Linked DNA regions of Homo sapiens: region 1 is linked to region 2. Evidence: promoter capture Hi-C in human tissues and cell types (Jung and others, 2019). All regions are on one chromosome and are shown on one strand. Each heading gives the region's core, a stretch centred on a gene start or on the middle of the fragment in contact. The rest is flanking DNA. Distances are from core to core; before and after follow the strand shown.

Region 1 (6,534 bases), core at 235-2,734, 270 kb before region 2:
TGATCAATCATGAAAATTGGCTGTTGCATGCAAAGCGCTCTTATTAAAGCGTGCTCTACATCTCTTCGAATGCTTGTTAAAATGCAGTTTCCTGGACCTGAATCAACTCTACCAGGCTTGCTTTTTCAGCAGGTTCCTTGGATCATTCTTATGTGTCCCCAGATTTTAGAACCACAGTGTCAGTGGAACAGGGAATTTGGAAGCCGACAGAAAGGCTTGCGCAGGTCTATACCCCATCACAAACAGTAAGTTTTGTGGCTTGCATATCTTGAAATAATACATGTGAACTTCACTTAGCTCAAGTGAAAACCATTTTTCCCCTGTCCTCAATATTCCTGAAAAAGCAAAGAGTTATTGCCGGGATCTGCAAGTCCATTTGTGCCTGGAGTTTGAATCAATACTTTGGTTTGCACATATGCGTACTATAATTTGTCAAATGTAAGAGGATTTTGTTGCTATTTGTAAAATTAAAAAATTAAAATTATTGTATTTAAAGAAGTAGAACCACAAATTATAATTATGTGAGGATTGACAAAAAATTTTAAAAGGATTTCTGAGGTCTTTTTTTTCCTCCTAATTAGGGAGCCACCCAGTGTCCCTGGTAAGTGTAAGCTATCAGCCAGGGCAGAATTCCAAAAGAGACACAGCCCCAGATATTGCCCTTTAATGACTGAACAGGCAAATTAAGTGGAGCTGACTGATCCATGGATCTGTGTGGAACTGCCTGGCCACGTGTTCTTGGCAGAGGGGTTACTCGGTGGCTACTTCATTGCTTCCAGTCTCTTCCCTATGCCATTCCAGAGGTGCAGTGACACACACACTGCAGAAATTTTTGTGACCCATTTATTCATTTAGGAGACTCGAATGACACCATTAACAAAAATTAGGGGTACAAGCAACATGCAGCAACCATTCAGTTTGGTCTATTCCTTGATTTGGAGAAATCTGGAGATGAACTTTTGGAATTTTCTAGTACTTTAAAACTTTGGCCAAGCATTAAATGGAGTTTAAAAGTCAATCTCTTCAGTAGTAGAGTGAAATCACATGAATAGATTTATACTTGATTTTTAAAATGTCAGTCTACAAAAAGCCAAAAAACAGAGGGAAAAAAACAAGGTTGCAGCAGGTGAAAGAGTTTCCTGCAGTCCATATCAGATGTGAGAAAGAAGCTGTCTGCCTCTTCAATGTGTTAAAATTTGGTTAGAGATCCTCCCACGCTGTATTAGCCTGTTCTCATGCTGCTAATAAAGACATACCCAAGACTGGGTAATTTATAAAGGAATGAGATTTCATTGACTCACAGTTCCACATGGCTGGGGAGGCCTCACAATCATAGTGGAAGGTGAATGAGGAGCAAAGTCACGCCTTACATAGTGCAGGAGAACTCCCTTTTATAAAACTGTCGGATCTCGTGAGACGTATTCATTACCATGAGAACAGTATGGGGGAAACCGCCCCTATGACTCAATTATTTCCACCTGGCCCCATCCTTGAAACATGGGGATTATTACAATTCAAGGTGAGCTTTGGGTGGGGACACAGCCAAATCATGTCACATACCTACAACTGAAACTATTAGAGGTTAAAAGTTTTAAAATTACATAAAACTTCAGTGAGAATGGGAAGGGATTTTATAAAACTGTTTGTTGTTCTTCCCTTCCTCCCCATATATTCTCTAGCGCACACACTCATATCCCCCCCCCCCCACATACACACACACACACACACACACACACCACAGACACATGTTGCCACCCATGAAGTAAGAGTCAGGATTTTTTTTTCTTTGAATATTTCTTTTCCTCCAGGAAATGGTAGAGGCAAAACATCTCTAAAAGAGTTAAGGATTTTTAAGACTTAAAGGTGTAAAGGATAGTAGTTAGTTCTGATTTTCTTTTTCCTCTTTTTTTACTCATGCGCCTAAATGTTTTCCTAAACTTGGAGCCAGAAAATGAGGAAAAGGGAAACATTCTCATGAAAACAAATCCAACCTCCGCTCAAAATATATGTATGAAAGTTTTCCTCAAACCGATTTTTCTTTTTAGATTCCAAAAAGCTCATTGAGTTGGCTTTTTGAGCAATCAGCGTTTTCCAGTAGCAAGCAAATTTCCTTCCCAGTGGGAAATTTGCTGATAAAACGACTGGAACCAGTGCGCCACCTGATGGTCTTTCCACACATTTCAGTTTACTAGAAAAAGGCAAAAAAAAAAACAACCATGGAAATTCCCTTTAGCAAATGTACTGTATTCTAACTTGAGTCAGGGCAGAGTCTCATAGATTAACAGTTGCTGCTTAAACTAAATATTCACTCACTTTATATAAAACAAAAACTATTTTATCCATGACCTTCAATCTGAATCCTTTATTAGACTAATTTGTTAGGAAATACTAAGTTGATCTAGTTTGCTGATAATTTTCATTTTCATTTTTCAGTTACAGGCAAATATTTTAAAAGTACATATTAGAGGCCAAAGGACGTTATCCAACATCATTCCCAACCCCCAAAGTAAAATAAGCCCTCAGGTAATCTAGAATCAGCCTTCCAAATGTGGGAGTTGCCCAAGGTCATTTCATTCAATGTGAATCAAAAATTAATTGAGCTCAAAGTTAACACCATCAACAGACATCATGAGGATCCTAGAAAGATGCACTGAGAAGGGCCCAACATCACTTCTGTGGGTTTCGTGCCAAAAATGAAAGACACTGGAGAAATCCAGGGAGTAACAACCTAGAAAATAACTGGCCTCTGCTCTTCAAAGACATCAAGGTGAAGAAACACAAAGAGATCCTGAGGAAATGTTCCAAAACAAAAAAGCCTAAAGAGACATTAACCCAAGTATGATTGGATCCTGGACTGGGGTAAATAGGAAAAAGGACATTGTTTGGACAAGTGATGATATTTGAAAATGGACTTGGGACTAAACAATAGCATTCTATCCATGCTAAATTTTCTTATTTTCATAATAATATGATGGCATGTAAGAAAATGTCTTTGGTCATTGGAAATATATGCCTTAAGAAAATCTGCAAGAGTTGAATCAACATATGGATACAGAGCATTGAGGTCACTTTGCTTGTAGGTGGCACAAAAAGAAAATAGGTACAGGTGGGAAGTCCCAAGTATCATGTTTTCTGCTCCCTGTCCTTGTCTAGGGCTGTCTGGCTAGGGGCTGGGATTCTTGGTAAGATCTGTCTTAGAGTTAGATCTTGGTAGATGAGATCTATCTTATAGATATGGAAGATCAGCTTCTATATCTCCCGTATCTATAAGAGGAAATGGATATTCTCCCACCTGCTGTCTTTAGCCTCCCTTCCTAGGATGCTCTGAGGATCAAAGTAGACAATAGTCTAAAGGTTAAGAATGTGTTAAACCCCTGTATGGTAGAAAGCAGGGAAAGAGGGAGACAGGGTACCCTCTACTGATGAAGGTTCCAGTAGCTGGGAGAGAGAAACTATCTGTATGTTTCAGGAAGTAAAGTCAGATATAAAAATGCAACCAGTAATTAGGGATTTGTATCATGTATGCCAACTATAATTCTCAGTTTCACCATATTTCTCTCAACATTATCTCATCAGATTTGTACAATGACTTTGCATATGATGTGGAGGAAGTACTATAAGCTACATTTTATTGATGATGACAATAGAGCTCACATATAAATAACAGCACCTCTATTTTGTTTTGTAGATATTAGTCCTGGACAGAGCTGGTGTAAGTTAATAGGCCAACTGTCTCATGGACATTCACAGCTCCTTGGTTTGATCCAAGATGATCCCTTAGTAGAGGCATCATAGTTTTGCAGAAAGAGCTGTATCTTTGAAATATTCCAGGCCTGGATTGGCATGTCATGTGTACCACTTCCTGAGCATACAGACTTCAGCTGGGGTTGCTCTACCTCTCTGAATCTCAGTTTCCCCAAGATCTTGTGCTTTTAACTACACTGCATGTCCATAAATGTTACAAGCATTGTTTTGCATGTGTATTCATTATAATTTGTTGTAACTTTATTGAAGTATAATACAAATATGGAAAAGGGCCATGTCCACAGTGTACAGCTCTGTGCACTTCCACAAAGAACAAACTTGCGACACCATCACCCAAATCATGGAAGCAAATGCCACCCAGAAGCCCTTTCTCTGGTAGTATTGTCTGGTAGTATTGACACCATAAGTGGGATGTTACTGTACACATCATTTTGCAATTTGCTGTTTTCAATCAAAGTCATGTTTTTGAGCTCTAAACTGCTGTATTGAATGTAGTTCAAATTGAGAAAAATCATTTATCTGGAGCATTTTCAACAGCTTATCACTTAATAAAATAAGATAATGCATAGAGCGGAGAAGGCAGGAGAGAGAAAAAAAGGAGGGGGAGGCAGAGAGGGAGAGAGACAGGGAGTGAGAGAATGAATATGCTGAGCCATTTCCCCCACTGCCAAGCACAGTAAGTCCTTCTGACCAAACTAGGGGCAGCCTTGTCTGTGGCTGCCTGCATCTGCATCTTCACACATTATGCATGTGAAGGATAATGTTCTGGAATGTCCACTCACATGGGTGTTCTCTGGCAGGTCATTTTTAATCCCTGTGACCTCCTAGGGGAAACATCCTTCCCCCGTTTCTTCATTGTAACTCATTTTCAGATCCCAGTGGATCTTTGCCAAGCATTTTATTATATTTATTTTTCTTCCTTGATAACCTTGGCCTTTGCTGATTTCATAGCCAAAGTGGTAGAGATGAAAATCCTGTCGGTGGTCCTGGCTGAGGACACTGGAGGGCAGTGGGGATCACTCGATTGTACCTGTGGTGGAGAGGTGATCCCCAGTCTACTTTACAGAAGATCTAAGGAGCCTCCTTAGGAAATGCCATCTAAAGCCCCATCTCACCAAGCAGCTCTTGACCACAACTTGAAGTTACAGTCATTGAAAGCTCAGCCAAGATGGCTCCCAGCTCCATTCATGCTTCCTTCTGTAGCTGGAGGTCCTGGGTGGAGTGGGGGCCACAGTTAGAACCCACAGGAAGTGTTTGAGCTGGTGGTCACCATGACAGGTGCAGACATCTGCCTGCCTGTTCCCAGGGCTCATCCTCCTCCCTGCAAGGCATGGCACGAACAGCAGGGAGACTGAGGGGCCTCTGGGGCCGGAACACCTGAGTTCCAAATCCTGCAGCCACCTGAGAGCTGTGTGACCACAGAAATGGTGCTGAGCCATCCAAGAAGCAACTTGTTCCCATTTTGCATGAGAATTCAATGAAATCGAGAGTATAAACCACGGATCACAAAGCCCAGCCATGGTAGACAGAGATGTCATTTCCTTTTCTTTGTTCCTTCCTTTCCGTTTTTAACTCTTCTACCTGCTCTTTCCTCTTTCTCTTTTCCTCCCTCCCTCTCTTCCTTACTTTTTTTCTTCTTTCTTCCCTTGTTCCCTTTCCTAAAACAAAGTACCACATTGCTAAATCTAGGTGCTAGATTCATGGATATGTGCTACATGTATTATCTGTGTATTTCTAAGTGTTTAGAATATTTCATAATTTAAAAGTAAAACATTTAAACAATACCCCTCCAAAAAAAGTCTAAAGGCCCACAGTAGACAATTTGAAGTAGAATTTGAAGGTAGAGCTATCTGCAATATTTCCAAGCTCTCAGATGATTGCATTATGCAGCACAAGTTGAGAATCACTGGGCAGTCCCTCTATTCCAATTGCTAACTTTTGGGGAGAGTGATTCTGTTTTCTCCAAATGGGATGAGTGACCCCTGCCTGGCTCAGCTTGTCCCCGTCAACATGGGCATGCCCTGGAGGCATTGCTGGGGCAGACATTTGAAGACTTTGGAAATAGCAGAGGGAAAAGGTGTCCACCAGGCCTGACCATTTGTTAGGGTCAGAGAAAAGTGGTTAATTCACCCTGCAGAACACTAACCAAATACGAGCGCGATTTATGCCCCCACCTAAAGCCCATATGGAAGCATGGGAACCCCAGGCCTGGGAGAGACCTCTGCAAAGCTCCATCCTGAGTTTCCCTCAAGAGAATCAACCTTAAGAGATCAGAGTTTCAGAGATGAAGTCTCCTTCATTCTGTGCCAGAGTTAACCTAAATTCCTTCCACTCCCCAGACCCCATCATGGGCCTTGACCATGTACCAGAGGCCTGTGCTGAAGATAAAACCTGATTGCATTTCTGCCTCCTAGAGTCTGAAGAAACGGGAGGCATGGGGAAGTGACTCAGATGAAAGAGGCTGCATATTATTTTCTGTACAGTGGATTCCAAAGAAAAACAAATAACAGAATCCTATGTAATCAAGAAAAATATTACAGCTAAATGTTAGACTCAACTTTAGCTAATCTGTCAATGAGAGAAAAAAGCAAAATCACATAGGAGTGTTCTATTGTGTGCAGCCCCAATACCATCACAAAATGGGTTTTATAAAAATGTGTTGATGGCCAGGCGTGGTGGCTCATGCCTGTCATCCCAGCACTTTGGGAGGACGAGGCGGGTGGATCACCTGAGGTCAGGATTTCGAGACCAGCCTGGTCAACATGGTGA
Region 2 (5,938 bases), core at 478-2,977:
AGGGGGCCAGGCCGCCCATGGCCCCGGCCGCCTGCCCCCCGAGCGGGCTCAGGCTGGGACTCAAGTGCGGCCCCATGCCCGCCACGCCGGCCGCCCCGGCCGAGCCGCCCATGCCCGCCATGGCGCCCGCGCCGGGGGACATCCCCGCCAGGGACGGGCTCATGCCAGCGCCCACGTACGACGACATGTTCATGGAGCCCGCGCTCATGTTGCCCGAGCCGCTGCCCATGGCGGCCGCCGACATGCTCATGTACGTGTTCATGCCGTTCATCCCCAGGCCGGCGTTCATGTTGCTCACGGAGGAGTAGCCCTGCGGACAGAGCCCCGGGAGGGAGGCGACAGCGTTAGCACCGCGGCTGGAGGGTGCCCAGACCTCCCACCCACCGCCCAGGCCTCCGCGTCCGGGGAGGCCTCCGGGGAGCCCTTTCGTCCCCGATGGCCCAGTCTCCGGACTCCGAGTCTGTTTCATTCAGGGAGAGTCATGATCGATCGCCCTTGGGAAGGTGGCGAGCGGATTGCTGCTTGGGCATGTGGCCCGTTCCTAGCCCTTCTCCACCTCGCCCAGATTCTAGAACAGGGGTCCCATGGAGTACTCCCAAGCCAGCACCCCAAATACATTCCCCTACCCCAGAGTCTCCCCAAACTCTCCCACCAGCATACTGAGCTGGCGCCGAGGCCCGAAGTCCCCGGACGCCACCTCCGGTCGCAGCAAGCAACCTGCGGGACAACGCGCGGGGCGCCTCGGGCTGCCTCCAGCGAAGACTGTCCCGGGCCCCCTCTGTCCGGTCTCCCTCCAGGGACCCCCTCCCTTGTCCCAGGGAAACTGCAAGGCAGTGCCTGTGCGGAGTGCGGGGGCGGCTGGAGGCACTGAACGGGGCAATAGGGAAAGAACCGAGACCTGAACCACACGCGGCTGAGCTTTGCAGGCAAAAACTTTCTTTCTCTTTGTCCACTAGTCTTTGACTCTGCCTCCACTTCAGCCCCCAACTCCTACCCATCTTCTCCTCCTCAGCTCCCCACCCCCTCGCCGGCCGACCTCCCACCCCTCCCCAGCCGCGCGCTGCCAAACATAACTCTGTTAGGATAGTGCGTGGCTCGGCCACGAAGAGGATTTGGAGGCGCCGCAAGTCAATATTTGATCACAAAGTTAATATTATCTCAAGGCTAACAGTGTGTCGTATAAAAAAGAGACCCATTTGATTCCAAGGAGGGCGGAAAAGGCGGCTGCCCAGAAAGGCTGGGGTTGTGGGGCGGGGTGGGGGGGTGCCAGCGAGGGAAGCGGTCCTGAGGTTGGGGAAGGAGCGAGCGCCGCCGCTCCACTTCCCCCTGGAAAAGACGAGCGCTTACCTCGGGCTCTGCATAGTAGCTGCTCCAGTCGGACGGCTCGTGCCCTTCCATCTTCACCGCTCCCAGCATACTGGAAGCCGAGTGCATGGCAGTTTAAAATTTAACAGCCACAACAAACGACCAGCAATCACCCCCCACCCCCACCCTCTTTTAAAAAAAAGTCAGCCAAAGCACCGTCCCCTCCTCCCTCCCTCTCTCGCGCTCCCTCTCCCTGGGCTCCACTCCCTCTCTCTCCCTGGGCAGGCCGGAGGCGGTAGTTGGAAGTGGGCGGGAGGTGGGGGGGGGCGAGGAGCGGAGGAGGCCCAGGCCAGCGCCCCGCGGTAGGGAGCACCCGCCGCCGCCGCGCTCACGGGCTGCCGGGTGGCGGCTGAGGTTGGCAGTGCCGAGCTGCCCCGAGGCGGCGGGAAGCGCGCGGCGCGGGGGCTAGTGGGGGGGTGGGGAGGAGGAGGAGGAAGGAGGAGGAGGAGGCGGTGGTGGTGGTGGAGGAGGAGGAGGAGGAGGAGGAGGAGGAGGAGGAGGAGGAGGTGTGGACCGCGGAGCGGACAAGTGCCGCAGTGACGTGGGAGGCTGGTGATATAGCGCGGCGCGCTGGCGCGGGCCTCCAATCCCCAGACCCGGGGCAGCCCATTTGAATAATCAGCTCACACCTAGGTGAGAGGTAGCCGCAGCCGGCGCTCCGCACCTGCCCCTCAGCGCCTGCCGTCCGCCCCACCGCCGCGGCGCCCCGCACTCCTGGGCGGGCCAGGGGAGCGGGCTGGGCGGGCGATCGGGCACGCGGGATCCCTGGTCGAGCCCCCTTTCCTCCCGGGTCCACAGCGAGTCCCCTGAGGAAGGAGGGACCTGGGAGGAAACCACCCTCTGGGGCGGCTCCGGCCTCCAGCCCCCGCCCCGTCTCATCGCGCCGGGCGCCCGGTGCGCCTGTCGGAGGGCGCGTCCAGCCTCAGTGCCCGGCAGATCCCTATGAAAGCCGGATTTATTTATGCCGGGTTTCTTCGCTCTCAGTGCTCATTCTCTGTCAAAACAGCAAGTCCATGACAGCCAATTTGCAAAGCGCTGTCCTATTTAGAAAAACTACGTACACACCTTTAACTCGCCCGCTGCTGCTCCTGCGAGGCCCCTCCCTGTTACAGTTCAGACCCGGAACGGCCTCGGGAGAAGCGCGGGGCGCACGGTCTGGCCGCCTCGGCTCTCCGACTCCTCAGACACCGGCCGCCAGGGACCCGCAGTGGGGCGGCCGGCGCCTGGCGCAAGCAGCCCCTCTAGCAGCGGCCGACGGTTGGGAGGCTGAGATTTGTCTCTGATATTCAGGCCGGCGTGTTTCAAGGTTACTTTTCAGTCACAACCGAGGTGCCCACAGCATTTCGTAACTAAAACAAACAGGGCAGGAGGTGGGGAGGGAGGGGTGAGGAGAGAAGAATCCAGGAATCAATGATGGGGCATATGGAGTTGACTTCAAGAGCGTCTCTGTCCTCTCTGTCTTCCAGAGGGACTGCTTAATAGAAATTAGAAACTCCAGCAATCGTATACTTTTATTTCCCCAGCAGCTCTTGGGTTCAAAAATTGTCTTCTGTTCTGGGTTAGCCTGTGAGCCCAGATTTGGAGTGGGGGGATATTGCAGGTGTTTGGATGTGGAGGCTCTTTCTTGGTTCTGAAAACCTGGCTGGACCTTGGGGATCCAGCCCTGTACCCACCCCCTCAGACACAGAGAATGCATAGGAACTAGTGGGCATCCAGCCCACCTGTCCAAAATTGGGGGCGATGGTGGCAGAAGACAGGCGAGATGGCAGACACGGAGCTTCGCATTGAAGCTTGAGTAAGGGTGAGGCTGGAAGGCAAGCGAGGAGGTAGCAGTAGGCACAGGGGAACCACTTCCCTAACCCCAGGACTCTCAGGTCTGCACGGTTTGGGACACAGAAGGAAGCCGCCGGCAGCATCTTTTGCTGCTGAAATGCAGATGGTTTGGACACTTCATAAAGAGGGCATTAATAAGCCCGCCGAGTGAGCGCCAGGGCGGGATTCTCCCACAAATTCAAGGTCTGTATCTCCGCGGAAGCCGTGCCTATCGGTCCCCCGAGTGCTGAAGGCTCCCACGAGGGGCAGGCCAGCCCGGTGCGCCAGGGAAGGAGCTTGATGGTGTGTACGGCTACGTAGTGAACGTGGAGGTGTGCGCAGCGGAGTCAGAGGGGCTAGATCCCCAGCATTTCCCACGGGGTCCCACCTAGCGCGTGGATGGGAGCAACTTCATCACTCCACCGAGGGCAGGGAAAGAGGAGTAAGCATTGGAGCTCAAAGAATGAGCAATTTTTCAAAGCTTTCTCCGCAGGCCTGGGCAGACACACACGCACACACACACACACCGCACCCCCAAAACTCAAAAGAATGTTATGGTTGACCTAGTCTGTGCGTGTGCTGTATGAGAGTATTTGTGAGCTTATGTGGGTGCCCACTTCCCTTTCTATTTTGCTCCTGGGTGGAAATTTGGTCCCAGAAATTATTCCAGGAACAGAAGGAGCGAGCTGGAGGGCCGCAGGAGAAGGGGGCGCTACACTTCCAAGGAGCGGACTTTGGAAGCCCCCACCTCCACCACAGCACTATTGGTGGCCGGGGTCAGGGACACCAGAGAGCGCTCGGCGGGGGCTTCCACAGTGACAGGGCGCCCCCTGTCGGCCGCCAGGCCCGCGGGACCGACCCGAGTCCTCATTTACCCCCGCGATCCCAACCCCGCAGCTCCGGCACCGGAGCACCTTCTCCCCCGCTCTCCCAGTCTCTCCGAAAACGCCTTCGGGGGGACTCGGCCTTTTTGGAGCCCCAACCCCTAGGTTCTGCGCGAACCCAAAACGGCCTCCTGCACCCTGGCGAGGTTCTGGGAGCTCCGGTAGGGTAGGGCTGGATGACGCCTCCTAGAGTCTCGGAGCAGCCGCTCCCGCACCCTCCCGGCACGCCTGCCCATGGGAATGCGAGCGGGGTCTACGGTTAGCTTTAGGTAGCTGGGAGCGGGACACCAACGGGCTGCGAAGGAAGCAGGGACGTTCAGACAGCCTGGGGTTCGCGTTCCCTTCCAGCTCAGCGGTCTTTGGAGCTCCTCCTTCCCGGAGTTCTGATTTCTAAAGGGCTATCCAGAGTTCTGGCTCAGGCTTGAATGCTGAAGATTGCTCCCGGAGTTTCTCTCCAGGAAAAAGTTCGCGGGGACCTCGGGCTGCAGATGTTTCTCCCAATCCCTCTTTAGTCTACCCTCATGTAGGGCCGAGACCTACAGAGCCCTTCCCTTTCCATTTTGTTAGGTCACCGCCGGCTTCTATAATAAAGCTGCTTTATAACTGAGGACTGTGCTTGGGGTTAGCATGCTATTTTTATTTTGGATGTTGCCTCAATGGCAAAGTCATAAGACTCGAGTTCAAATCCAGGCCTCCTCTGCTCTCCCTGGGAAGAAAACACCCAGGCCATCCAGGTCTCCTAGGCCTTCATCTTGCTGGAACAATCTGCGTTCCCCTAGCAAAAGTCCTCCCTAGAGCTCTCTTTGTCACATGAAACCAACCAGTGCAGAAGGGGCATCATTGAACAGAACTCAATTTTCCTAAGTGAGAACCCATGAAATACCTAAGGAGAAAAACAATAAAAGTCCCATTAATACTCCAATTCCTAAAACCTTTCAGAGAATAAATACCCAGGCAAGGCCTTGCTCAAAGTTCCCCAGCGTGTTTAGGGCAACATAAGGCAGATATGTAGGCAAGATGAAGGCAGAGGGGATGGAAAAGTGACAGCACAGTCTTGGGAAAGTATGCATTTTTACTTTCTTATAAACTTTTTAATTGGTAAAAAAGCAGATGTCCAAACACCCCTTATTCATTCTCTGGATGAATCTCAAGTCTCAATGAAGAAAAGGCATATCGTGTGTCAAAGATTATAATCAACATTTCACTTTCTTTGGGTGGGTTATTATTTCTGAAATGTACTGAAAAATCAGCCAGGCGCAATGGCTCATGCCTGTAATCCCAGCACTTTGGGAGGCCGGGGCGGGCGGATCACCTTAGGTCAGGAGTTCAAGACCAGCCTGACAAACATGGTGAAAACCCATCTTTATTAAAAATACGAAATTAACAGGATGTGGTGGCCCATGCCTATAATCCCAGCTACTTCGGGGGCTGAGGCAGGAGAATCGCTTGAACCCGGGAGGCAGAGGTTGCAGTAAGCTGAGATCGCACCATTGCACTCCAGCCTGGGCAACAAGAGCAAAACTCAATCTCAAAAAAAAAAAAAAAAAAAAAATTAGACCATCAAAATTTGTCTACTTGGCACTGAGCACACCTTCAAACACTTATGTTGGCTTTCAAAGTTCTTGGATGGTCAAAAGACCAGTTGTTTACGGAGAGGGCAATTGAAAAGGTCATTAGCTAAGAACACCTTATCAGAGGGTATTTATGTAAAAGAATAAAAAAATTCAGCATGTTGCAGCCTTCAGCAAAGGCTCAGGAAAATGCTGATAAAGGGGGAGGCAAGGTGCAACATTTTAAGTTTAATACTGTGTGCACCTGCATGCAATTTATCTCTCCACCGCAAGATCCACAGGAAAAGATGAAACATACATTTTTAA

What was found. Contacts are between HindIII fragments. The study calls those that stand out against the background at their distance.
Region 1: a fragment that was not itself captured here is called in contact with the fragment with the promoter of FOXA2 in region 2 in 1 of the 25 tissues and cell types used here (thymus).

Annotation. Positions count from the first base shown.
Region 1 is chr20:22,310,789-22,317,322 of GRCh38, forward strand. No RefSeq gene overlaps it. Among named protein-coding and RNA genes, the nearest start is that of LINC01427, 31 kb to the left of the region's middle. The HindIII fragment of the contact is 7,948 bases long and covers 1-5,458 here.
Region 2 is chr20:22,582,845-22,588,782 of GRCh38, forward strand. FOXA2 (forkhead box A2) reads right to left here and starts at 1,728. Exons shown (of 2, transcript NM_021784.5): 1 at 1,348-1,728; 2 at 1-310. The coding sequence starts at 1,434. It overlaps LNCNEF (lncRNA neighboring enhancer of FOXA2), which reads right to left. Exons shown (of 3, transcript NR_109883.1): 3 at 4,678-4,944. RefSeq lists enhancers at 1-333, 1,758-2,513, 3,269-4,024, 4,025-4,779. The HindIII fragment of the contact is 10,630 bases long and covers 1-3,406 here.